6 separate regions of the Homo sapiens genome follow, and all the other regions are linked to region 3. Evidence: promoter capture Hi-C in 16 types of primary human blood cells and fetal thymus (Javierre and others, 2016). All regions are on one chromosome and are shown on one strand. Each heading gives the region's core, a stretch centred on a gene start or on the middle of the fragment in contact. The rest is flanking DNA. Distances are from core to core; before and after follow the strand shown. Region 1 overlaps ARHGEF15 (Rho guanine nucleotide exchange factor 15). Region 2 overlaps DNAH2 (dynein axonemal heavy chain 2). Region 3 holds the start of ALOX15B (arachidonate 15-lipoxygenase type B). Region 4 holds the start of ATP1B2 (ATPase Na+/K+ transporting subunit beta 2). Region 5 holds the start of EFNB3 (ephrin B3). Region 6 overlaps DNAH2 (dynein axonemal heavy chain 2).

What was found. Contacts are between HindIII fragments. The CHiCAGO score rates a contact against its expected background, and 5 or more counts as called.
Region 1: a fragment that was not itself captured here is called in contact with the fragment with the promoter of ALOX15B in region 3 in 1 of 17 cell types (activated CD4 T cells); the score reaches 5.1 in activated CD4 T cells.
Region 2: a contact is called between a fragment that was not itself captured here and the fragment with the promoter of ALOX15B in region 3, in 9 of 17 cell types (total CD8 T cells, naive CD4 T cells, naive CD8 T cells and 6 more). The highest score is 8.5, in total CD8 T cells.
Region 4: the fragment with the promoter of ATP1B2 here is called in contact with the fragment with the promoter of ALOX15B in region 3 in 1 of 17 cell types (activated CD4 T cells); the score reaches 5.6 in activated CD4 T cells.
Region 5: a contact is called between the fragment with the promoter of EFNB3 here and the fragment with the promoter of ALOX15B in region 3, in 2 of 17 cell types (naive CD4 T cells and activated CD4 T cells). The highest score is 7.0, in naive CD4 T cells.
Region 6: a contact is called between a fragment that was not itself captured here and the fragment with the promoter of ALOX15B in region 3, in 2 of 17 cell types (megakaryocytes and endothelial precursors). The highest score is 6.2, in megakaryocytes.

What each region holds. Positions count from the first base shown.
Region 1 is chr17:8,317,917-8,321,764 of GRCh38, reverse strand. It overlaps ARHGEF15 (Rho guanine nucleotide exchange factor 15), which reads right to left. Exons shown (of 16, transcript NM_173728.4): 10 at 3,304-3,378; 11 at 3,103-3,195; 12 at 2,855-3,015; 13 at 2,606-2,758; 14 at 2,371-2,453; 15 at 2,162-2,266; 16 at 1-923. The coding sequence ends at 772. Among named protein-coding and RNA genes, the nearest start is that of ARHGEF15, 9.6 kb to the right of the region's middle. The HindIII fragment of the contact is 1,237 bases long and covers 1,381-2,617 here.
Region 2 is chr17:7,749,461-7,753,143 of GRCh38, reverse strand. The region is part of intron 12 of DNAH2 (dynein axonemal heavy chain 2); the gene reads right to left. Among named protein-coding and RNA genes, the nearest start is that of DNAH2, 34 kb to the right of the region's middle. The HindIII fragment of the contact is 7,689 bases long and covers 1-3,683 here.
Region 3 is chr17:8,037,188-8,041,229 of GRCh38, reverse strand. It overlaps ALOX15B (arachidonate 15-lipoxygenase type B), which reads right to left and starts at 2,171. Exons shown (of 14, transcript NM_001141.3): 1 at 1,928-2,171; 2 at 1,625-1,844; 3 at 1,247-1,328. The coding sequence starts at 2,074. The HindIII fragment of the contact is 10,323 bases long and covers 1-3,375 here.
Region 4 is chr17:7,648,781-7,652,509 of GRCh38, reverse strand. ATP1B2 (ATPase Na+/K+ transporting subunit beta 2) reads right to left here and starts at 1,584. Exons shown (of 7, transcript NM_001678.5): 1 at 880-1,584. The coding sequence starts at 991. RefSeq lists enhancers at 1,014-1,656, 1,931-2,431, 2,432-2,932 and a silencer at 1,525-1,674. The HindIII fragment of the contact is 15,564 bases long and covers 1-3,729 here.
Region 5 is chr17:7,703,646-7,707,311 of GRCh38, reverse strand. It overlaps EFNB3 (ephrin B3), which reads right to left and starts at 2,110. Exons shown (of 5, transcript NM_001406.4): 1 at 1,592-2,110. The coding sequence starts at 1,713. RefSeq lists enhancers at 841-1,732, 3,417-3,496, 2,626-3,517, 3,518-3,666 and a silencer at 3,427-3,666. The HindIII fragment of the contact is 8,602 bases long and covers 315-3,666 here.
Region 6 is chr17:7,767,561-7,771,232 of GRCh38, reverse strand. It overlaps DNAH2 (dynein axonemal heavy chain 2), which reads right to left. Exons shown (of 86, transcript NM_020877.5): 23 at 3,172-3,333; 24 at 2,966-3,069; 25 at 825-981; 26 at 594-676; 27 at 300-480. Among named protein-coding and RNA genes, the nearest start is that of DNAH2, 52 kb to the right of the region's middle. The HindIII fragment of the contact is 2,502 bases long and covers 927-3,428 here.

The DNA of each region.
Region 1 (3,848 bases), core at 750-3,249, 280 kb before region 3:
CTCTTCTGGAGCTCAGACTTAGCATCTTTCTTGGAGCGAATAATAGGAAAAATGGGGGGTAAAGGAAGAAATGGAGCACTCAGTCATTTGTGGGTCAGGAGCACAATCACCACACACACACCACAGTCAGCAGAATGCCTTTCCTGATACATATACACACATATCTACACATGCACATGTACACACACAGATTTTCTGAGACACATACTCTGAATTCTTCTGGAAGAGAAGAACTGGCTTGAGAGGGCACAGGAAGCATCCAGGAATGGAAACTAGTATTTCCCAGACTCAAAAGACAGGACCAGTCATTGCTGCAGAAACAAGCAGGGTGACTACTGGTCTCTTGGGTCCAGATCACCATTTTCTTTGGCTGATTGGCTTCCTGCTCATTCCTGTTCCCAATTTTATCCTACGACTTTATCTCCAATGAGGCCCTTTTTCAACTGCCATGACCTAGATTTGTCTTCCTTGGCCCTGAGCATAGCAGGAATACTCATTGGCCATAGGCTCAGCCAGCTCAGTACCCATTGGCTGCTCTGCACTAAGCCTCTGTCTCCATTGGCCACACATTCAAGGCATCCTCATTCATTCTTATTGCTGTGGGTTCAGGCGGCCGTTTTCATTGGCTGCTCTGTCCTGAAGCTCGATCTCTATGGTTGCCACGAGAGGTAGTATCTCCACTGACAGTGAATCCAATGGATGAATGGGCTTTGTTCTCTCCGTGCCACACTGGTAGGTGTCTCCCAACATGTGCCCCCTCCTCAGCCTGCATTAGGGTGGGGGGGCATTGGGGGTGCCTGAAGAAGATCCAACAGCCTCGAGAAGCCTCTGGTTCTGGCGAAGGTGCCTCCTCCTTTCGTGTTCCCCTGTGACTTCACACACCAGCTGGGCAGGGAAGGCCCCAGGAAGCCCCTTCAGCCAACCTGGGGGAAGAGAGACAGAGGCTCCAATGAGGTGGGGGCAGGGAGCAGGTGAGGAGGCAAAGGGGGCCTCGTGGGGTCTCAGGCCTTCAGGGTCATTGTAGGTGTGGGAATTCATGGACAAGCCTGGAGCATCGGTAGAAAGGGCATCAGAAGTGGAGGTGACAGCAGCTCGGAGAGAGTCTGGGCTGCTCTTCCGTCAAGCCCTGCAGTGGCTGCTCATGTCTCTTGGAGTAAGAGGTGGAGTCCTTGCAGAGACCTGTCAGGTCCTGCGTGATCCCATCCCTGCCACTTCTATGACCTCATTTGCTTCTCCCCCTTTCTCTCTCCTGCTAGTCACACTGGCCTCCTTACAGTTCCTCAGTCACACACCAGCCGCAGGGCCTTTGCACTGCCTGCTGCCTCCAGCTGGGACACTCTTCCCCCAGACACCATGGGCCTAAATTAGCTCCATCAAGCTTCATGTTGCCTTCTCAGTGAGGTCCACCTCGGCCTCCCTATTGAAAATTTCAGTCTGCCCAACCCTGGAACTCCTGACCTTCTTTGCTCTGCTCACTTTTTTTTTTTTCCATAACACTCATAACCTTCACATGTACTTTATAATTTACTTATCTATTTTGCTCATTCTTTATCGTCTGCCTCCTCTGCTAGAACGTAGCTCCAGCAAGGAAGGAAGTGTGATATATTTGATTCACAGTCCCTAGAACAGCGAGTGGCACTTTGTAGGTGCTTAATAAATATTTATTGAATGAATAAATGAAACACGGCCAGGCGCAGTGGCTCACGCCTGTAATCCCAGCACTTTGGGAGCCTGAGGCAGGAGGATCACTTGAGCTCGGGAGTTCAAGACCAGCCTGAGCAACATAGTGAGACCCCCCACCTCCATTAAAAAAAAAAAAGAATAGAAATAAGGCCTGGCACCAGAGGCTCATGCCTGTAATCCCAGCACTTTGGGAGGTGAAAGGGGACGGATCACCTGAGGTTAGTTCGAGACCAGCCTGGCCAACATGGTGAAACCCCATCTCTACTAAAAATACAAAAATTAGCCAGACGTGGTGGTGGGCACCTGTAATCTCAGCTACTTGGGAGGTTGAGGCAGGAGAATCCCTTGAACCCAGGAGGCAGAGGTTGCAGTGAGCCGAGCTCACACCACTGCACTCTAGCCTGGCTGACAGAATGAGACTCTGTCTCAAAAAATAATAATAATAAATACAAAATAAATAAATGAAAGACTTTCTCACCTTCAGGGGTCTTGTGCAGGTGTTTGGGGGCAGCCCTGGACTCCAGACTCCGTCCTTCAGTCTTGGCAGGTGCAGACGACTCTGAACACAGTTCCTGGGAACAGTCTGGTTGGGGGTGGGTGACATTAAAGTGATTCTGTTTAGCTTCTCCCCCATATTCCTCTAAGACTCGCTTTTTCTTCCCTCATCCCCTCTAGGGGGATACTCACCACAGTCCTCATAGATGGTGTCTGGGGAGCAGGGAAGGGGGCCTGGGGTTGGGAAGGCTCCCAGCCAGCGCTGCATGTCTGATCTGGTGGGGATATTGGGAAGTGTCACAGTTGGCCCAAAAGATCCTCTGGGGCTGAGGCAGGAGCCACAGAAGAGAGAGACTGGGGAAGTGGGGGAGGTCTGAGAGGTCAGATAAGTGTCCCAAGGTTGTTTTCTGAGGGAAACACAACTCACAGGGAAGAAGCTTGGAGTAGTCGGTGGGTGGGGCGGCCCTGGTGGTTGCTGAGAAGGGAGAGGCGGAAGGTAGGGGGTCCAGATGGATCCGGAACCTGCTGGGCCTGGACCAGGGAGCGATGGGCATAGTCCAGAACCTGTAACCGCTGCCCACTGCCCAGGGATGAGGTCGTTCAGAAGGACAGCAGGGGTCCCGCTGGACCCCTCCTGCCCACTCCAGCCTGGGCTCCTTCCTTCCCTAGGACTCACCTCTTAGGCTGAGTGATGAGCAGCAGGTCGCTAAAGAGCAGCAGGCAAAGAGGGGTGAAGCGGGGGCGCGAGGCAAAGAGCACGCCCCCCCTCCGGCACCCTAACTCAGTCAGCTCTCCCTGGAATTCCAGGCGCCGTGACCAGGAGACCAGGGGCAGGGCCTGCGAGGAAGCGGAGGCAGAGGAGGTTCTAGCGTGGCAGCAGCAACATGGGGCAGGGCAAGATGGGGAGCCTGGGCAGCGATGTACCTTGACTTTGTGGAAGCGCAGCCTTTGGGTGAGCCGGATCAGCTCTTCAGTCTGCTTCATGCGCCCCACCTCAGCGCTGCAACGCTCGATGATCTAGGTAAGGGGAGCTGTGTCACCACCCCAGCGGCCAGCCCCCTGCTCCCTACCATTTCTCTCTACCACCTTGTCACCTCCCCCTGCTTCAGCTTCCCCACTGCCCACCTTGCTGACAGCACCCAGGGCCTTCTGGGCATTCTCCTGACGGCTGGACCCCTCTTCTGTCTGGCGCAGGATATTCTGGGGACAAGGAGGAAGGGTGACTGGGCCCCCTGCTCTGTGGCCCTGGGATTCAGAGGGGCCACAGCTCAGAGGACCCTGTCTGTTTCAGCCAGTTTCAACAAGGCTGACAGACCTCATCACTCACCATCTGCAGAACCCTGAGCAAGTCCTGTTACCTCTCTGAGCCTCAGCTTCCCTATCTGTAAAATGGGGCTAATACCCACCTAGCATATCAATAGCATTGTTTTGAGGATTCAAGAAGGCAATATATGTAAAGTGCTTAGCATAGTTCTTGGCACATATTAAATGTTGAAAAGAAGGTTCTTATTTTTTTTTCTTCCGGAGTCTGGCTCTGTCACCCAGGCTGGAGTGCAGGGGTGCGATCTCGGCTCACTGCAACCTCTGCCTCCCGGGTTCAAGTGATTCTCCTGCCTCAGCCTCCCAAGTAGCTGGGATTACAGACGTGTGCCACCACGCCCGACTAATTT
Region 2 (3,683 bases), core at 1,038-3,537, 290 kb after region 3:
TCCTTCTGTTTTTAATATGCTAAAGCAAAGTTCAGAAATTCAGACACCTACCTCCAAGGCAAGTGTGGCTCAAGTGTGATGATAAATGGCAACTGACGCTTGGCCTTAAAGTTGAGCTGAAGAGGACATGCTCCCGCGAAGAAAGCCATGCTCCACGCTCCAGGCAATTGTTGCCATCTGGAAATGTGGGCCCAGTGTGGATGCATTTTCTGATTTTTCAAGAGAGGCCAGAAATTGGTTTTTCATGTAAAATCTCCTGAATTTTAAGTGCTAACAACAATTCACCTGAAAAATAATTATTCAGTGGGCATGTGGGAGAGGCTCTAGGACTCCTGGCAATCCTTGACTTGGGCAGTAGTTTGCAAGGGTGTTTTATTTTGTTATTTTATAATGATTTGTTAGTTAAACTGAACATACAATTTTTTTTCTTTTTTGAGACGGAGTCTTGCTCTGTCACCCAGGCTGGAGTGCAGTGGCGCAATCTCAGCTCACTGCAAGCTCTGCCTCCCAGGTTCACGCCATTCTCCTGCCTCAGCCTCCTGAGTAGCTGGGACTACAGGCGCCCGCCACCACGCCCCGCTAATTTTTTGTATTTTTAGTAGAGACAGGGTTTCACCATGTTAGCCAGGATGGTCTCGATCTCCTGACCTCGTGATCCGCCCGCCTCGGCCTCCCAAAGTGCTGGGATTACAGGCGTGAGCCACCGCGCGCGGCCTGAACATACAAGTTTTACGTATATCTCTGTCTATGACAAGTTTCATAATAAAAATGTTTTTAAAGGAAAAAATGATTTTAAACATATTTGTAAAAGTTGCTAGGTACAAAATTAATTTATAAAAATCAAAGTTCTCAATACAAAAATTGTGACTAGGTAGATATTATCATCAAGAAAAAGAGACAATAACAATTAAAACAACAAAAATAAAATACCAAAAATTAATCAGAAATTGTGTGTGTGTGTGTGTGTGTGTGTGTGTGTGTGTAAAATGACTTAAGGGGAAAAGGCAGGACTTAAATAAATTGAAAGAAAAAACACTGTTGGCCAGGCCCGGTGGTTCACACCTGTAGTTTCAGCTACTTGGGGGGCTGAGGCGGAAGAGGATCAATAAGCCTGGGAGGTCCTAGCTGCAGTGAGCTGAGATCGTGTCACTGCACTCCAGCCTGCATGACAGAACAAGACTCAGTCTCAAAACACGCACACACACACACACACACACACACACCCCACAACTATTCTTGGAAAGACTCAAAATCATAAAGATATTCTTCTAAAGTTAACCTATAAATTTAACCAAATCTCTATTCCTATAAAAATAGGAATGAGACTATTTTTGGAACTAAACAAATTGATTCTAAAATTCTTATGGGAAATAAATATTAAATATAGCCTGGAAAACTCTGAAGAAAGAAGAGTAATGAGGACAATAATTAAAACAGTTTGGTTCCTGCACATGAATAGACAGATACCAGAATAGAGAATCCCAAAATAGACACGAATATACTCGGGAATGTGTTACTATAAAGATAGTAGTTCACTAAATGAGATTGGGTCAACTCTAAATGAGATGGCTCTAGCCATCAGGAAAAAACAAACAAACAATGAAATACAAAACTCAATTTGAATCTGCACCTCTTTCTCTACACCAAAATAAATTTCAAATGGATCAAACATCTAAATGTAGAGAATAAAATCATAAAATACCAGAAGAAAATATGGAATATTTTTTAAAATAAAATTAAAAAAAAATCTTGGCCTGGTGTGGTGGCTCATGCCTGTAAGTTCAGCATTTTAGAAGGCCAAGGTGGGTGGATCATTTCAGGTCAGGAGTTTGAGACCAGCCTGGCCAACATGGTGAAACCCCATCCCTACTAAAAATCCAAAAATTAGCCAGAAATCGCTTGAACCCAGGACGCAGAGGTTGCAGTCAGCCAAGATGGTGCCACTGTACTCCAGACTGGACAACAGGGCAAGACTCCCCCTCAAAAAAAAAATGAATAAATAAATAAATAAATAAATAAATAAATAACTTGATTTTTTTTAATCTGCAGGGCTTTTAAAATAAAATTGCACTTTTTAATCACAAAGGATAAACATTCCCACGACCTGAAGATATGCTCAAGAAACTTTGCATTCTAAATACTGCTGAAATGTTATTTGGAAAGAATATTGAGGTGAAAATTCTAGAATTTTTTTAGTCTTTTCTACACTGAATTAACAATATTGGAGATAATAACACATTTCAAACTTTGCAAAGGATTGTGTTTTTACCGTCTTTATTGGAGAAGAATCCTCCAAGAATGAAATGATTTTCAAGTGCTCACTTATTTGTGATACAGGCTTTAAGAGATTGTGGAAGAAGAAATGCTGTTTTTTCAAACCCTGAAGATCTCCACTAACGTATGTGGTATTTTTAAAACTGCTAAAATATCTTCAAAGTGAGTAAGCCTCTTGAAAGTATAAATGAGCAATGAATCACCAGGCATTTAAGGAAAGCCTCCAAAGTAAAAGAGAGAGGCCAAAGCCAAAGACAATTACTATAAATCGGCTAGAATTCCAAACCCAGCCAAATGTACAACAAGCAGAGGGCAGGAAAACAGTTGTCAATCATGCAAAAACTCAAAAGATTTACCTCCCCTGCACCATTTCTTAGGAAGCTACTAATGGATACACACCAACAAAACAAAGGCGTAAACCAAAAAAGAGGAAGACAAAGGAAACATGAAATCAAACAAGGAAAGAGGCTGAGGGAAGTCCCGGGGTAACTGCTTTGTAACAGGCCTTGAAAACAACACCAGCTGGACAGAAGCAGGAGGACAGGAAAAAAACAGATCTAAGAAAAACATTGAAACCAATACCCAGTATGTCAGATTGTGAGGAAAAATACTACTCAAAGGGATTTTATTGGTTGGTTTGGAGGACTTAGTGATAGTGAATGCTGCGCTAGCAAAAATAATGAGGTGGCCAGGCACAATGGCTCACACCTGTAATCCCAGCACTTTGGGAGGCTGAGGTGTGTGGATCACCTGAGGTAGGAGAATCGCTTGAACCTGGGAAGCAGAGCAGAGATCCTGGGCAACAGAGCGAAATTCCATCTCAAATAATAATAATAGTAATAACGATAATAATGAGGTAATTTTTCTTTTTTTGAGACAGAGTCTCGCTCTGTCGCCCAGGCTGCAGTGCAATGGCGTGATCTCAGCTCACTGCAACCTCTGCCTCCCGGGTTCAAGCGAGATTCTCCTGCCTCAGCCTCCTGAGTAGCTAGGATTACAGCCACCCGCCACCATGCCCAGCTATTTTTTGTATTTTTAGTATAGACGGGGTTTCACCATGTTGGCCAGGCTGGTCTCGAACTCCTGACCTCGTGATCCACCCACCTCAGCCTCCTGAAGTGCTGGGATTAGAGGCATGAGCCACCACACCTGGCCTAATAATGAGGCAATTTTAAATTCCAAATTGAGCAAAACATTGTACAAGCAAAAGAACTATAACAATGTAAAATTACTCAACTCAGCAGTGAACAATCCTAATAGAGTCATAATAAGATAAGCCCTAAACATCAATGTAACAAAAAGTTGTGTTATAATGATATGGGGAGATTGGAAGTGTGTGAATAGATACAGAAACATTTCTAGTAGCATAAACGTATTATCATGTCCTTCAAACTGGATGTCTTGGATTT
Region 3 (4,042 bases), core at 922-3,421:
GGTCTAAGATCTCACAGCTCGTTTTGGCAGGGCCTAGGCTGACTCTGGGTCTCCATGGACACAGTAGATCTCAATGTCTATTCCCTCTCTTGGGGCTGTTGCTGCCAGATTTGGTGCAATGGTTTCCTTAGGGGTGGAATTCATGACACATGGAGAATCACCAGGAACCAAATGAGCCTGTGGCTGCTCTGATCCCACAGACCAGGAGCAAAAGCCTGCAGCCCAGGCTTTAGATAGCAGATGAGTTGGCCGGATCAAGATCTTTTGAAAATCTGTTTCTGAATGCAGTTCCTGGCTTTGTGCCAAGGGAATCCTCACTAGCGGCCCCAACTCCTCTGTTATCTCCAAGTCCCAGTTTTCCCCTGTGATCTCCAATGCTGAGCCCAGAGCACAGAGAGAGCCCCCATCTCACCCCTTGCTAGCCCTGGAGGGTGAGTTTCCTGGGGCTTGAAGGGCGTGTTTCTGGCTCTACTCAGATTTCTGGGAGGACACAACAAGCCGATGCATGAAAAAGTCCCAGGGCAAGGAAGACACCAGCAAAGGTAAGGCATTTAAAGCAGTTTCTTTCTCTTTCTTTTCTTTCTTTCTTTCTTTCTTTCTTTCTTTCTTTCTTTCTTTCTTTCTTTCTCTCTCTTTCTTTCTCTCTTTCCTTCCTTTTCCTTCCTTCCTTTTTTTTTTTCTTTTTTTGAGATGGAGTTTTGCTCTGTCCCCCATGCTGGAGTGCAATGGCGTGATCGGCTCACTGCAACCTCCACCACCCGGGTTCAAGCTATTCTTCTGCCTCAGCCTCCCATGTAGCTGAGAATACAGGTGCCCGCCACCCTACCCAGCTGATTTTTGTATTTTTAGTAGAGATGGGGTTTCGCCCTGTTGGCCAGGCTGGTCTCGAACTCCCGACCTCCAGTGATCCGCCTCCCTCAGCCTCCCAAAGTGCTGAGATTACAGGTGTGAGCCACCACGGCACCTGGCCCTAGAGCAGTGTTTTTCAAACATCAGTGGCCACCAGAGTCATCTGGAAGGCTTGTCAAAACAAAAATTCCCACTCTACACCCTCAGTGTCGTAGTAGGTTGGAGGTGGCCTGAGAATTTGCATTTCTAATACGTTCCTGTAGACGCTGCTGATCCCAGGAGCAGCTTTGATAGGAGAGGTGGAGGCAGGGGCTTTTAATCTCTGTCATGACCAGGACACTCAAGCTGCCCCTCATCGTTTGGGCACACCCTCCCCCATCAGTAACCCCCTCCTCACTGGTACATCTCCTGCCGGGCCTGAAGCTCCTCCTGGCGCTGTTGCTGGAGCACAGGGTGGTGGTCTGCCCAGGACACCTTGGCTGTGGGAGAAGGGGAGTAGGTTGGGGTGGGGAGAGAAACTCACCATCACTACCACCAGCCACACAGTCTCCACGATTGCCACCCTCTACCAGGTCCCCTCCTCCCATAAGTACAGTTTCTCCTACACCAGGCTGCTACCTCCCGCTCCCCAAGGCTCCGCCATTCCCTCTCCTCTGCCCGCTACTCTGTGGCCACACCAGCTCACCTCTCCATTTCACCTGCCCTTCTCCCCAACCCCCAGTCCCCTACCCCTTCCTGTGCTCCCCCTGCAGCCCCAGCCCGGCCCGCCCCTCACCTGTACCCTCCTGCAGCACCAGGGTCCCCGCCCCCTCCAGCCACTGGTAGCAGGGGAAGAGGAGGTGGCCGCCCCGCGGCGGTGTCAGCTGGAACCAGCGGCAGAACCAGGCATCCGGGGCCAGGGGCCCCAGCAGGGGCAGCACTGGGGGCGCCTTGTGCACGCGCAGCAGCAGCACTCGGCCTACGTCCTCCGGGAGCGTCACCTGGAAGTCCTCCTCCTGAGGGGAGGTTAAGTATGCGTCAGGCCGGACCCTCCTGCTCGCCCCCTTCACCTCCACCCCATCCACTCCCACGCACTCACAGCGCCCGCAGTGAACTCCTTGCCGAGATTGTCCAGGGGCAGTGGGGGGCTCTCTCCCCGGGTCCCCACGATGCTGACAGACACTTTGTCCCATGTGCCAGCCCCGAAGGCTTCTCCGGTGGACACCCTGACCCTGAACTCGGCCATGCTGCCAGCCTAAGTCCAGCTCTCTACGGCGCACAGGGCTGCAGAGCGGGGCTCCCCCCTGGGACACGCCTGGTTATTGCCCCTGGTTATTGCCACTGACTCCAAGCCCAGTGGACTCCTCTAAAAAGCACGTCCGTTTCAGGGCGGGGAGGGGCGGGGCGGAGAGGCTGGAACACGCAACTAAAGTGGGGGTGGGCGGGGGATTGGCAGCGCTGGGAACAGGAGGGACTAAGAATACCCTGAGGTTTGGGGAACGGGGCCTTTCAGTGGTGGTGCCAGGCCAGAGAGCCTAGAGTTGGGACCCAGTTGGGGTGGGGGTAGATTTGTGCCCACCACGTCTGTTTGTTTTCCTTCTTAGCCTTAGAAGTCTATGCAAAAATATCACCCCATTTCCCACAACTCTTCTTGGGCCTGCGTTCATTATTTTTAAAATTTATTTATTTATTTATTTTTGAGACAGAGGCTTGCTCTGTCGCCAGGCTGGAGTGCAGCAGCATGATCTCGGCTCACTGGAACCTCCTCCTCCTGGGTTCAAGTGATTCTCCTACCTCAGCCTCCCCAGTAGCTGAGACAACAGGCGAGTGCCACCATGCCCAGCTAATTTTTGTATTTTAGTAGAGACGGGGTTCCACCATGTAGGCCAGGATGATCTTGATCTCTTGACCTCATGATCCGCCTGCCTCGGCCTCCCAAAGTGCTGGGATTACAGGCGTGAGCCACCGCGCCCAGCCTACATTCATTATTTTATTTCATTCAATAATTAATGTTCAGAACTACCTCTGTGCCAGGTGCTATGCTCACTGCTATTGATAAAGGCCCAGGCAAGACCTAGTGCTTGCTCTCATGGAGATTAAAAATCAAGTGTGAGGCCAGGCACAGTTGCTGGCCAACATGGTGAAACCCCATCTCTACTAAAAATACAAAAAAATTAGCCAAGCGTGGTGGCGGGCGCCTGTAGTCCCAGCTACTCAGGAGGCTGAGGCAGGAGAATAGCTTGAACCCGGAAGGCGGAGGTTTCAGTGAGGTGAAGTTGTGCCATTGCACTCCAGCATGGGCGACAGAGCAAATCTCGGTCTAAAAAAAAAAAATCAAGTGTGAGAGAAAATAAGTAAACCAACACATAATTTCAGATGATAATAAGTGCAATGAAGGAAATGAAACAGACTAATGTGAAGGAGTGAGAAGCAGAGGTGGGAAGGGAGGCGTTCAGAGCCTCAGAGGAGGTGAAAGGATCTGTCTGGGGAACAGAGTTTTGTGCAGAGGAAACTGTTCCTGAAGAGGCCCTGTGGTTAGGAAAAGCTTGGCTTGTTGGAGGAGGGAAAGGCAAGAGTGCAGTGAGGGAGGGATTTGGGGGAGAGATGCCAAGGGGAAGTTATGGATTTGGGCTTTGGGGGAATAACATAACAGATTTGGGGTTTTCGGTCTGGAGATGCTAAGTTTGAGATGGCCATTAGACATCCAAGTGGAGAACCCACGTCTGGGCATAGAGCTCAGGACTGCAGGTGTGCATCTTTGAGTCACAAGCACACAGGTACATCTATACCACAGGCTGGTGGAGATCACTAGGCAGAGAATATCCTATAAGTAGAGAAGAGAAGAGGCACAAGCTGTGCCCTAAGGTCCTCTGATATTTGGAAGTCATGCAAAGGAGTGGAAGCAGCAAAGTTCAGTCAATGAGGTAGGAGGAGAACGATGCCGGCAGACACTTTGTCCTCTTGTGCCTGTCACAGTGTTTCATGAAAGCCAACTGAAGTGAGAGTGACTTATCATGTATATTCCATATATACCATGGAATACTATACAGCCATGAAAAAGAATGAGATCATGGTCAGGCATGGTGTCTCACACCTGTAATCTCAGAACTTTGGGAGGCTGAGGCAGGCAGATCACGAGGTCAGGAGTTCGAGACCAGCCTGACCAACATGGTGAAACCCCATCTCTACTAAAAATACAAAAATTAGCTGGGTG
Region 4 (3,729 bases), core at 335-2,834, 390 kb after region 3:
GGTGGACTGATGGGGACGGTGCCCAGTGTGGAAAGATTGTAAATCGTGTCACACAGTGTCCTCTGTCCCCTGTGTCTCAACGTCCCAGCTTGACCATCCCTCTTGGAAGAATTCCACCCCTCACCTGCACCTGTGCCGGTCACCAGACCCCCTCCACCCCCCCAACCCCCGACCACTACAGCTCCCTGAGTCCTGCCATGGTCAGCCTGGGGAGGCTTCCAAGTCATCCGACTGTCACAGACACCTGGCTGGCTGATGCACACAAATCACCACAGCGACCACTCCTCCCTCCGTCACCGACATGGGAGCAAAACCTGCAGCCTCGGTAAAACTCATACTATCAGCAGCCCCCCAACCCACAAAGCAGTCCCAGAAGGCTCCCAAGGCCAGGCGGTGGGATACAGACAACTTCCGCCGTGAAGAACCCCCCTAACACACCCCCCAAGACCCGCCCCCTCATGAACGTTCCCAGGGTCCAGGGGGTGGGCACGAGCTAAAAATAGACGGGGCTGCGGAGCTAGTGAGAGCCGGAGGGAGGGAAGGGGCGCTCTTTGGAGGTGGGGGACGCCCGTGTGGAGCGGACAGGCCCCGAGAGGGAGTGTGAGCGCCGGCGCGGACACGCAGGCGGAGCTGGCGACCCCCCGCCCGAGGGGGCTCCGCGGGGGGCGGGAAGGCGGCTGTGACCTACTTTCTCCGCCTCCGCACGGCCAGCCGGGGAGATTAGACTGGCGATTCGGCCCCCTCCCAGCCCAGAGCCCGGCAGGGAGGCTGGACGCCGGGGACCCGGGAGGGGAGCTGGGGCCGCGTCGGCGGGACCCTGCGCCCCCGAGGCGTCGCCCCGCGGCTTTCCCCCGCCCCTTGCGTGCCGGCCCTGCGTACCCCAGCTGGTCCCGGTGCGGCCCATAAACTGGTGCGTCCTCGGGTTCCACACGAACTCCTTCCACTCCTCAACCACCTGCCCGCAGCTCTTCTTCTCTTTCTGGATGACCATCTTGGTGGCGCGGGGCGAGTCCGGGCGCGGGGCGGGGGGTTGCGGAGAAGCGGGGGCGCCGCGCGCTGAAGCCCTCCACACACCCAAAAGCACGGGGAGCGAAGGCGGCGCGGGCAAAGGAGACCCCCCTCAGATATGCAGCTGCTGCAGATTCCGGGGTGCACGACCACGCGCTGCGGGGTGCTGGCAGCGCGGCGGAAGATGCACCGATCCTAGGCCCCCCAACTGCGATGAAAAGGGGTGCTGTCAGAGCAGGGGAGAATAACAAGAGGAAGGGGTATGAATGCAGCTTCACCCCCCACCAAACCGTCTAGAAACAAAACGAAATGGGGTGCAAAAACAGACGGCTACAAAAACCGAGCAGAACGCAGAAAAAAAGCGGGGTACAAAAAGGCAGAGAGAGGTGGGGGAGGGGGCCGCCCCGAAATCCAAGATGCAAAGAAGCTGTGGAACGAAGCTCAAGGCTCGCTCCGCCAAGCGGAGACCACTGCACCGGTGGTGGCTCAGCCGCGGGGGTGGGGCGGGGACGCGCAGCTGGGGGACAGCCAGGGATGGGGGGCCCCCCAGGCGGAGGCTCCGCTCCTCAGCAGTGCGAGGCCCGCGGTCGCCGAGCGCGGTCTTTATACTCTGCGGCTCTGGGGGTGCCCGCCCCCTTCCCACCCCCAGAAGCTCCGCCTCCTCGCCACTGGCCCAGGCGACCTCATACATATGTAAATATGGAGAGGTTGGGCCCGCCCCCCTGACTTCTCTTAGGGACCTAGCTGTCTCTCCATTACCCCCACCCCAGGTACTAGACTGGGACAGGGTGGGAGGAAGAGATAGAGGGCGTGTCCGGGCGGAGTAGAGGGAAAGATAACCCCAGAGAAACACAACGGCAGAGAGAGAAGCCGATATATGCTCAAAGGTGGGGGCCCCAGGCAGGGAGTTAGAAAGAGACTAAGATACAGATGCGGCGGAAGAGTCCGGGAGCAGATGGGGCAGAATGTCAGAGGAATAAAGAGCTAGAGATCAAGAAAGAGAGCGAAGAGACCAGCCGGGAGGCTGGCCGAGCCAGGAGGGAAGCTAGGACAGGCCCCGCAGAGATGGATAAAGGCCACCCCCAGAGGGACGTTCCCCTGTTGGGAGCCGCTACCAGTCCCCCAGACGCCTCCTTCTCCAATCTCACAGCCCCTGTCCACACCACCTGGCTCTGTCCACGTGCAGAGGCTTCCCCATCTTCCCATCACGTCTCCCTGAAGCCCTCTCAACACCACATTCCCAGTCCCCAGCACTGCCCTGAGATCCCAGCCCTGCAGCCAGGTCTACTTCGGTTCTCTGCCTCCTGGCACCCCCACCCCCACGTCGGAACTCACCTCCTTATGTGTCTACTTGGGTCAACAAACATTTATTGAGCACCTCTATAGACTGTGTGCTGTAGCCCTGGGGAGGCCAGAGAGGTTACACTGAAGCCACATCTCTCACGGGGCTCACAGTCTAGGGCGGGAGTACACTTGCTCTACATACCACATGTTAAGAATCATTATCTCAAGCCGGGCACGGTGGCTTATGCCTGTAATCCCAGCATTTTGGGAGGCCGAGGCGGGCAGATCACGAAGTCAGGAGTTCGAGACTAGCCTTGCCCACATGGTGAAACCCCGTCTCTACTTAAAAATGCAAAATTAGGCCAGGCGCGGTGGCTCACGCCAGTAATCCCAGCACTTTGGGAGGCCGAGGTGGGTGGATCACGAGGTCAGGAGATCGAGACCATCCTGGATAACACAGTGAAACCCCGTCCCTACTAAAAATACAAAAAAAAAAAATTAGCTGGGCGTCGTGGCGGGAGCTTGTAGTCCCAGCTACTTGGGAGGCTGAGGCAGGAGAATGGCATGAACCCGGGAGGCGGAGCTTGCAGTGAGCCGAGATCGCTCCACTGCACTCCAGCCTGGGCAACAGAGCTTCCGTCTCAATAAAAAAAAAAAAAAAAATTAGCTGGGCATGGTGGTGGGTGCCTGTAGTCCCAGCTACTCAGGAGGCTGAAGCAGGAGAATTGCTTGAACCCGGGAGGCGGAGCTTGCAGTGAGCTGAGATCACGCCATTGCACTCCAGCTTGGGCAATAGAGTGAGACTTCGTCTCAAAAAAAGAGAGAAAAAAAAAATCATTATCTCGGCCAGGCCCAGTGGCTCATGCCTGTAATCCCAGCTCTATAGGAGGCCGAGGCCAATGGATCACCTGAGCAAGGGAGTTCGAGACCAGAGGTCAGGAGTTCAAGACCAGCCTGGCCAACATGGTGAAACTGCGTCTCTACTAAAACTAAAAAAATTAGCCGGGTGCGGTGGTGGGAGCCTGTAATCCCAGCTACTCAGGAGGCTGAGGCAAGAGAATTGCTTGAACCTGGAAGGTGGAGGTTGCAGTGAGCCGAGATTGTGTCACTGCACTCCAGCCTGGACAAGAGCAAAACTCCATCTCAAAAAAATGGTATGCATTGAATGAATGAATGAATGAATGGGAGTTGGGGCTGGCCTCTGAAGGGTAGGTAGTCTTCCAGGACAAAGGAATGAAAGGCACAGAGGTGTGAAGTCAGGAGTAAGCACAGTCTACCCCAGGAGTGGCTGGCTTGGCTCCAGGAGAGAACTAGTCGGAGACTAGTGGGAAAGGAGGTTGGGGACACAGCATGGGTGTGGATTGCGGAGTACCCTGCAGGTTAGACTGAAGAATCAGGACTCTATCCTACAGGCTAATAAGAAGCCACTGAAGAACT
Region 5 (3,666 bases), core at 861-3,360, 330 kb after region 3:
TTAGACTTCTGGGGCAAGTGCTCTATTGCTTTGGAAAGGAAAGGAGTTGACTTTTCTAACCACAACCAACACACTTCACCATCTCCTTGGCCAGTGCACCCAGGCATCCACTGTCCCAGCACAGCCACAACTTGCCAACCCCTGCAGCCCCTTCCTGGACATCAATAGCTGCTGAGACAGGGTCTCAGGACTGGGTCCCAGGGGACTGCTACTTGATATCTTCCCAGACTCCCAAGTGTCCCACTCCCACCCCACATCCGAAAGAGCCCCCAGGACACCCTAACTCCCTTTTCTCTACCCTGTGAAAACAAGCTTATGTTCTCAAGCTACACACCTGATACTCACATTGCAGCTGGGAGTTGGCAGGTGGGTGACTGAGTACAGAAAAGACATTGAGATTATACCCAAAGAGATCCAGGGAAAAGAGAGGGAGGGATGGCAGAGCAGAGAAGTGTGAGGGAGGCTGGGAAGTAAAGAGAGGAACAATAATCCTAGCTCTCCTTTAATGAGCACATAATACATTCAAACACCTTACCGCTAATCCTCATAATAGCTGTAAGGATTGAGGATACAAACTCAGAAAGGTTAAGTGACATGCCCAAGGCCACACAGCTGAAAGCGGCAGAGCTAGGATTAAGACCAAAGATTTGATGAGCTCCAAAGCCCACCCCCTTCCCATGGCCTCACACAGTCTCCCCAGGGAAGTAGGAATTTTTCAAAACACAGAACTCTTTTATGAGCGGGAAGTGGGATCCGCATGTAGGCAAGGGACCCAGGTGACCTCCCGAAGGTTCTGTCCTACCCAGCGTGGCTTGAAGTTTCATCTGACCCCTGGCCTCTTTTCAGAGCAAAGCTGGCATGCCATGGAACAGAGGGTCTGATGGAAGAGTTTGCAGCAAAGATTGGGGGAGGGGGCAATGGAGTCCTCCAGATGCAAAAGGGAAGGAAGGAGGGTTCAGGGGGCTCCAGGCTTCTTCCAGCAAGATGCCGGCAAGCCAGGAAGGCAGGAATATGTTCTGGCTGGGAAATCGTTCAGCCAACAGTTCACTGACCCTCTGGCTGTGGGGAAGAGTTGGGAGACAGACTGTGAAGAGAGTCAAGGAGCCTTGGGGAAGTTGTCCCCAGAGCCCCCAAACGGAACCCCCTTGCCTCCCATCTCGGATGCGCAGTCCCTCTGGGGGAGGGAGGCACCCTGCCCTGCCTTCCCCTCAGCGACTCGCAGCACCTAATCTGCAGCTCTCTCCTGAGAGCTGACAGTAACCAGGCTCCCTCCAAGCCCAGCCCCCGACGCAGGCCTCCCACAGATCCAAATACCCACCTCACTGCCCTCCCGGCTACCCATGAACTTTCTTCTCCTTGCCCCTTTGGGGTCTCCAAACTCCTGACATCCATAGCACCACCCGCATCCAGCTCTGCGTGGGACCCGGAGTCTGGCTCCCAAGATCACCTGTCTAGTAACCCATCACACATCAGAGCACCAGCACCTTCCCTCCCGCCTCCTCCCTGCCCACAGAAGCCCGCCTCCAAGCCCCCAGAGCTTCCCTACCCACTGCCCTAGGGTCTGGGATCTCCCCAGCCGCAGGCCACTCACCTCTTATTCGCCGAGTTCCAGTAGACAGGCTCCAGGCTGAGCCCAGACACCAGCCCCAAAACCCCCAGCAGCAGCAGGGCCCCGACTCGCACGCCCCCCGGCCCAGAATGGGGGGGCCCCATGACCCCGCCAAGGCCTGGGGGGCGGGGCACCAACTCCCCCAAAGTCGCCCACCCCCCGGGGTGGCTGCCTTGGCTGCCTGGCTCTTCAGCCCGGACCACCCCGGTAGCTGATGCCCCCAGCGCCCACGCGGACCTGCTTCCTGCTGTGCCCGCGCCCCCGCGGCAGAGCGCTCAGCCCCACCAGAGCCCTTCCAGGGGCCGTCTGCAGGCGCCCTACGCGCCCCCGGCCCACGCGCCAGCACCCCGGGATCTGTGAGCCCGCCTAAGTGGGGGACTGGGGGAGCCGGGGACCGGGCGGGGGCGGCATGGGGCGCCGGACCAGGGAGCGAGGAAGGGGGCGCCGAGCCGGAGCCCCAGCCTCGCTGGGATTGAGGGCAGCGGGCTAAGGGAGGAAACCAGTCCCGAGCCCAGGAGGGGGGAGTTAAAGGAGAGGCGGGGAGGGGCAGAGGATGGTGGAGGGAAAAACCGGAGCTGGAGCTCGAGGCGGAGCGGGCGGCAGCATCCCGCGGCCCACGCCCCCCACACCTCCCTCACCTCGCGCACCTCCCGCCCGCCGCCCCGCCTCAGCCCCCGGCGCGGGCTGTCACGCCCCCTTTGTCTCTCCGAGCCTCTGGCTCCGGCTGAGTTCTGCCCGGCTCCCCTCCTGCCCTCCGATCGCCCAAGCTGCTGGAATCTTCCTCTCTCGAATCCAGAAAGGCTCTCGCCCTCTCCACCCCGAGGAACCCACCCCTTTCGCTCCCGCAGCCTCCTCCTCCATCCCAAAACAACACCGCTGCTCCCGGCAGGTTTGGAGAGAATAATAATAACCTTGAAGGCTTGGCGCTTTACAAAGTGCGGCGGAGCTGATCGTCACGACTACCTGTGTGAAGTGGGAGGGGCAGAGCTAACGATCCCATTGCAGAGATGAGGAAACTGAGGCTCAGGGAGGCCCCGTGACTTGCCCAAGGTCACACAGGAAGTCTGGGATAAAGCTAGAAACCAAACCCAGGCTGCGCACCTCCCACTCTTGGGGTCTCTTTTGTCACTGCTCCATGGACCAAGTGCTGTTGTTACCTGGGGGTTAGTGAAAAACAAGAGTTTAGGGGATACACTTGGGTCTTTCCTAGATGGCTGGGGGGAGAAGCGGGGCTGGGAGAAGAAGGGGCGTACCTACAACCCCAAACCGGCGCTGCGCAGGAAGGGCTGTTTCCAATTATCCTGGGGGAAGGGAGGAGTTGCCTTTTCGGGTGTAAGAGCCCTGGCTTTCAGCACCTCTGGGCAGGGGTGACATTCCTCTCCCTCTCAAGCCTCCCCAGGCCTTTCGTCCCTTCCCTTTGATTGTGAGGTCCAAAATCACATCCCCTGCTGGCAGTATTTCTTCAAAGTCCCCCCATTCTCAGTGTTTGGGAAGGTGTTGGGGGGAGGAGGGAGGAGTCACTGCTTCAAATGACACACTCGTCCCCCACCCCCAAAGACAGAGCAGACAAATGGAGAAACAAGCCCAGCGACAGCCGCTGAATGAATAAGACCCTCGCCGCGCCCCGCATGGAACAGCAATATCAAAGGTGACGACTGTATTTTTCAACACCTTTACTCTTTTATGTGTGTCCTTGACTCTGGCAACTGGGTTGTCTGCCTCCTGGGGAGCCCCGGGGAGCGGAGGAGAGTGCTCCTGCTCCCCTCAGAGCTGAGTAATGGTCCCCATGCTGCTGGAGAATGGCAAACAGTGTGGAGTGTGGGCGACAGGCGCCCTGTCACTGTCTGCACAGTCTCACACGGTCACACCCAACAGTCTGACCCAGCTCCTGCTCAGCCCCGCTCACCCTGACCCCTGCCGCCCCCACCTTGGGAGTGAGATTTCAAACAGGTTTCCCCCTTCAGTTTACCAAGTTGCCTAGCAACCAACCAGTCAATGGCATGAAGCCCCACCCCCACCCACTTGACTTCACACCAAGCTCAGCCGCCCCATTGGCT
Region 6 (3,672 bases), core at 928-3,427, 270 kb after region 3:
TACAGAGTGCTAGAAGTCAAAGGCCAAGATGCCCAAGTTCTACAAGGAAAGCTGGAGGTAGGGGGCCAGCTACCTGGGTCTAAGAAGAAAAATGGAAGAAAAATCTGAGAAGAACAAAAACTTGTTACGGAGGGAATCTAAGGTGAGAGGTAATAACTAAGAATCAGACAGCTGGGTCCTAGATGAAGAGTGACTTTAAAGGTAGGAGAATGAGGCTGATAACAGGGCAAAATCTAGGTCTTAAGAAAAAGAAGGAGTAAGAGCAGGAAGCAGGAAGAGCTCAGGCGCTGAGTCCTGACCTCTAAGTACATCCACTGACGCTGCACTGTGAGAATCATCTCAATAACCTCCAAAATGAGGGAGAGGCAGCGTTCCCAGTGGTCCACATCCTTCTCAAAGGCCTTGACAAAGCGTGATGCCTTCATGGTAGACAGAGCTACCTGGTTATCTTCCAGTGCCTGGAATACTTCTTCTGTACCTCTGAGACACAAGGGGTCAAAATCATAGTTCATCCCCACCTGCCCAACCTTGGTCCCACTCTGCAGCCTGGGTCACACAGCCCTCCATTCTCCTAGAGCCCCAGCTCCCCTGACCTGAGCCGATGATGGCCCTTATCCTTGTAGGGTACTATGTCGAGCTGAGTCACATCCCAGGTCTTGGCAATGTTTTGTAAAGCCTGTGGAGAGAAATTGGGGGACACAGCAGTCAGGTATCTCTTCACTAAGGGGAACAGGAGCTGAGAGGCGCCATCAGATGATGAACAGCTGGAGCCTGTGCTCCAGGAGGCGCAGGAGGTGTGGGAGCATGGGAGGGGACTGTCGTACCACTTCTATAGCCAGCTCTTTAGTTGCTGAAGCAGAGATCTCCCCAATTTTCTCCACATGCTGATCCATCCCAAGCTCCACAATCTGCTCCAAGGTGAAGCTTTCAGATTCCTGATCAAACTCCCGCTGGATCTCATCCCGGACCTGGTCCCAGTGCCTGCAGCCAGGAACAGGAGGGTGTGAGGTCAGGAGAGTTACCATCACTCCATTGCTGTCTCCCACTGGGACACTATGATTCTGCATAGTTACCAATTCATGATTCAACTCATTTTGCTAAACAGGCTCGAAGATGCAATCTTAGGCACCAGGGGAATACGAAGATTGAGGTGAAACCCTCCAGGAGTGGATTCTCTGGAGAGGAAGTTAAGGCAGGTGTGCCCACAAAACACACAATGAATCACCGCAGGTTTACTCTAGAACTGTACTGAGTAAAGGCCTTACATGAAACATCTCATATCATTCTCACGGCTACTCTATAAATTAGGAATTATTATTATTCCATTTACAGATGAGAAAACTGAGGCTTAGAGAGGTTAAATAATGTAAGCAAATAAAGTGGTTAGGTTATACATAACCGTATAACACTTAATGGTTTGGCATTGCCAAAAACGTTATACTGGAAGAAAGACAAAGAAGTAAAATTATTTTCTCTTAAATGGATAGATCATGATTGAAACACCATTTATAAAAATTACTTTATTTTTATAAATCTATCCCCAATGGTTTGAGATACATCCTCTGCCATATAATAAATTCCAGATGAATTAAAAGAGTTAAACCTGAGAAACACAAAGCATTAGAGGAAAGAATGAAGAGGATGTATTTGTAACTTTGGGATAGGAAAGGTCTTCCTAAACAAGGCACAAAGGCAAAAACCATACAGAAAGAAAGTTATACTTCTGGCTACCTCAAAATAAAATCTTTTGTATAACAAAAGACATAAGGCGGGACGGGCACGGTGGCTCATGCCTGTAATCCCAGCACTTTGGGAGGCCAAGGCGAGCGGATCACTTGAGGCCAGGAGTTCAAGACCATCTTGGGCAACATGGCAAAACCCCATCTCTACTAAAAATACAAAAATTAGCAGAGCATGGTGGCAGGTGCCTGTAATCCCAGCTACTTGGGAGGCTGAGGCACAAGAATTGCTTGAACCCGCGAGGTGAAGGTTACAGTGAGCCGAGATCACAGCACTGCACCCCAGCCAGGGCAACAGAGTGAGACTTTGTCTCCCCCACAAAAAAAGGAAAAAAAAAGACATAAGACTTAGTCATGATAGACAACTCCCTTTCAGAGAGAGGGAGGCCCCAGGGCAGGGGTCAGAGAACAAGAAGCCAGCAAGGCTGGATGACCCGAGACAGTGCAAGAAGCAGAGGACAGTGGCAGGCTTGGTGTCTGCGCCACATGTTCGCTGAGCACTATTTGCAATAGCTAAGATGTGGAATCACCCTAAGTGTCCATCAAGCGATGAATGGAGGATGAAAATGTGGTGTATATATACAAAGAAATACTCTTCAGCCTCAGGAAAGAAGAAAATCCTGTCATTTGCAACAACATGGAAGAACCTGGAGGACATTATGCTAAGCGAAATAAGCCAGGCGAAGAAAGACAAACACCGCATGATCGCACTCATATGTCATATGTAAAGTCTGAACAGGTTGAACTCACAGAAGCAGAGTCGAGTGCTGGTTACCAGGGGCTGGGGGTGGTAGGTGGAAAGTTCGGGAGGTGTTGGTCAAAGGACACAAAATTTCAGTTAGACAAGAGGGATGATCTCCTGTACATCACGGCAACAATGGTTAATAACAATCTATTGTATACTTGAAAATCACTGAGAGTAGCTTTTCAGTACTCTCACTACAAAAAATAGGTATGTGAGGTAATGCATATGATAATTAGCTCAATTTAGCCATTCTACAATGTGTACATATTTCAAAACATTATGCTGTACACCAAAGTGTATGCAATTTTCATGCGTCCATCAAAATTAAATGTTAAAAAGAGGAAAGAGAAAAAGACATACATTTGTGGACAGAGGGGAAGAGAGGGCTGTGAACACTGCGGAGAGGAGAATGGGAGGGACCAAGTGGTGGCGCAGGCCAGCGGGGCAGAGTGGACACCCCGGAGCAGAGGAGAAGCCTCACCTCTCTCTAAGGGCAGGGTTCCGCAGGTCTGAGATGAGAGGCATGGTCCTCTTGAACTGCTCTATTTTTGAGCGAGTGGTTTCAATAATTTCCCAGTTTCGGTCCTGAGCAAAAGTTGGGGGCATGAGAAGACCCGACGACCTCCCTGGGAACAGACCCAGATCCTCCACCAGCTTCTCTTCCGCCTCCCCGCCGTTTCTCCCCACCTTATACTCTTTGGCTAATTTTGTGAGGCGACGAAACAGCCCGTGGGCCGTGGTCTCCATGGTTTCCGTCTGCAGGATCAGGAACCGGCCAGTCTTCCACTCATTCCAGTTCTCCTCCCAGTCTCGTGCGATCTCCCAGATTTGCTGGAGGGCATCGAGCTCCTACAGGGCAGAAAGGCGCGTTGCATGAAGTGGCACCTGCCCTCTTCCTCCCTGACGGACGCCCAGGCCCTTCGCTGCTCTCGCTCTGTGAAGCTTCCCCTCTAGATAATACAGCGGCCTCCTCAGTCCACATATTTTTCTCCACTCTGTTGCCTTAAGAGCTTATCAAGGAACAAGCACATGAAAAAATCCTCAATGTCATGAGTCATTAGGGAAATGCAAATCAAAACCTCAGTGGGATGCCACTTCACACCCGCTAGGATGGCTAGAACCAAAAAAAAAAAAAAAAAGGTAAATAAGTGTTGGCACGGAGATATGGAGAAATAGGGAGACTTGTAC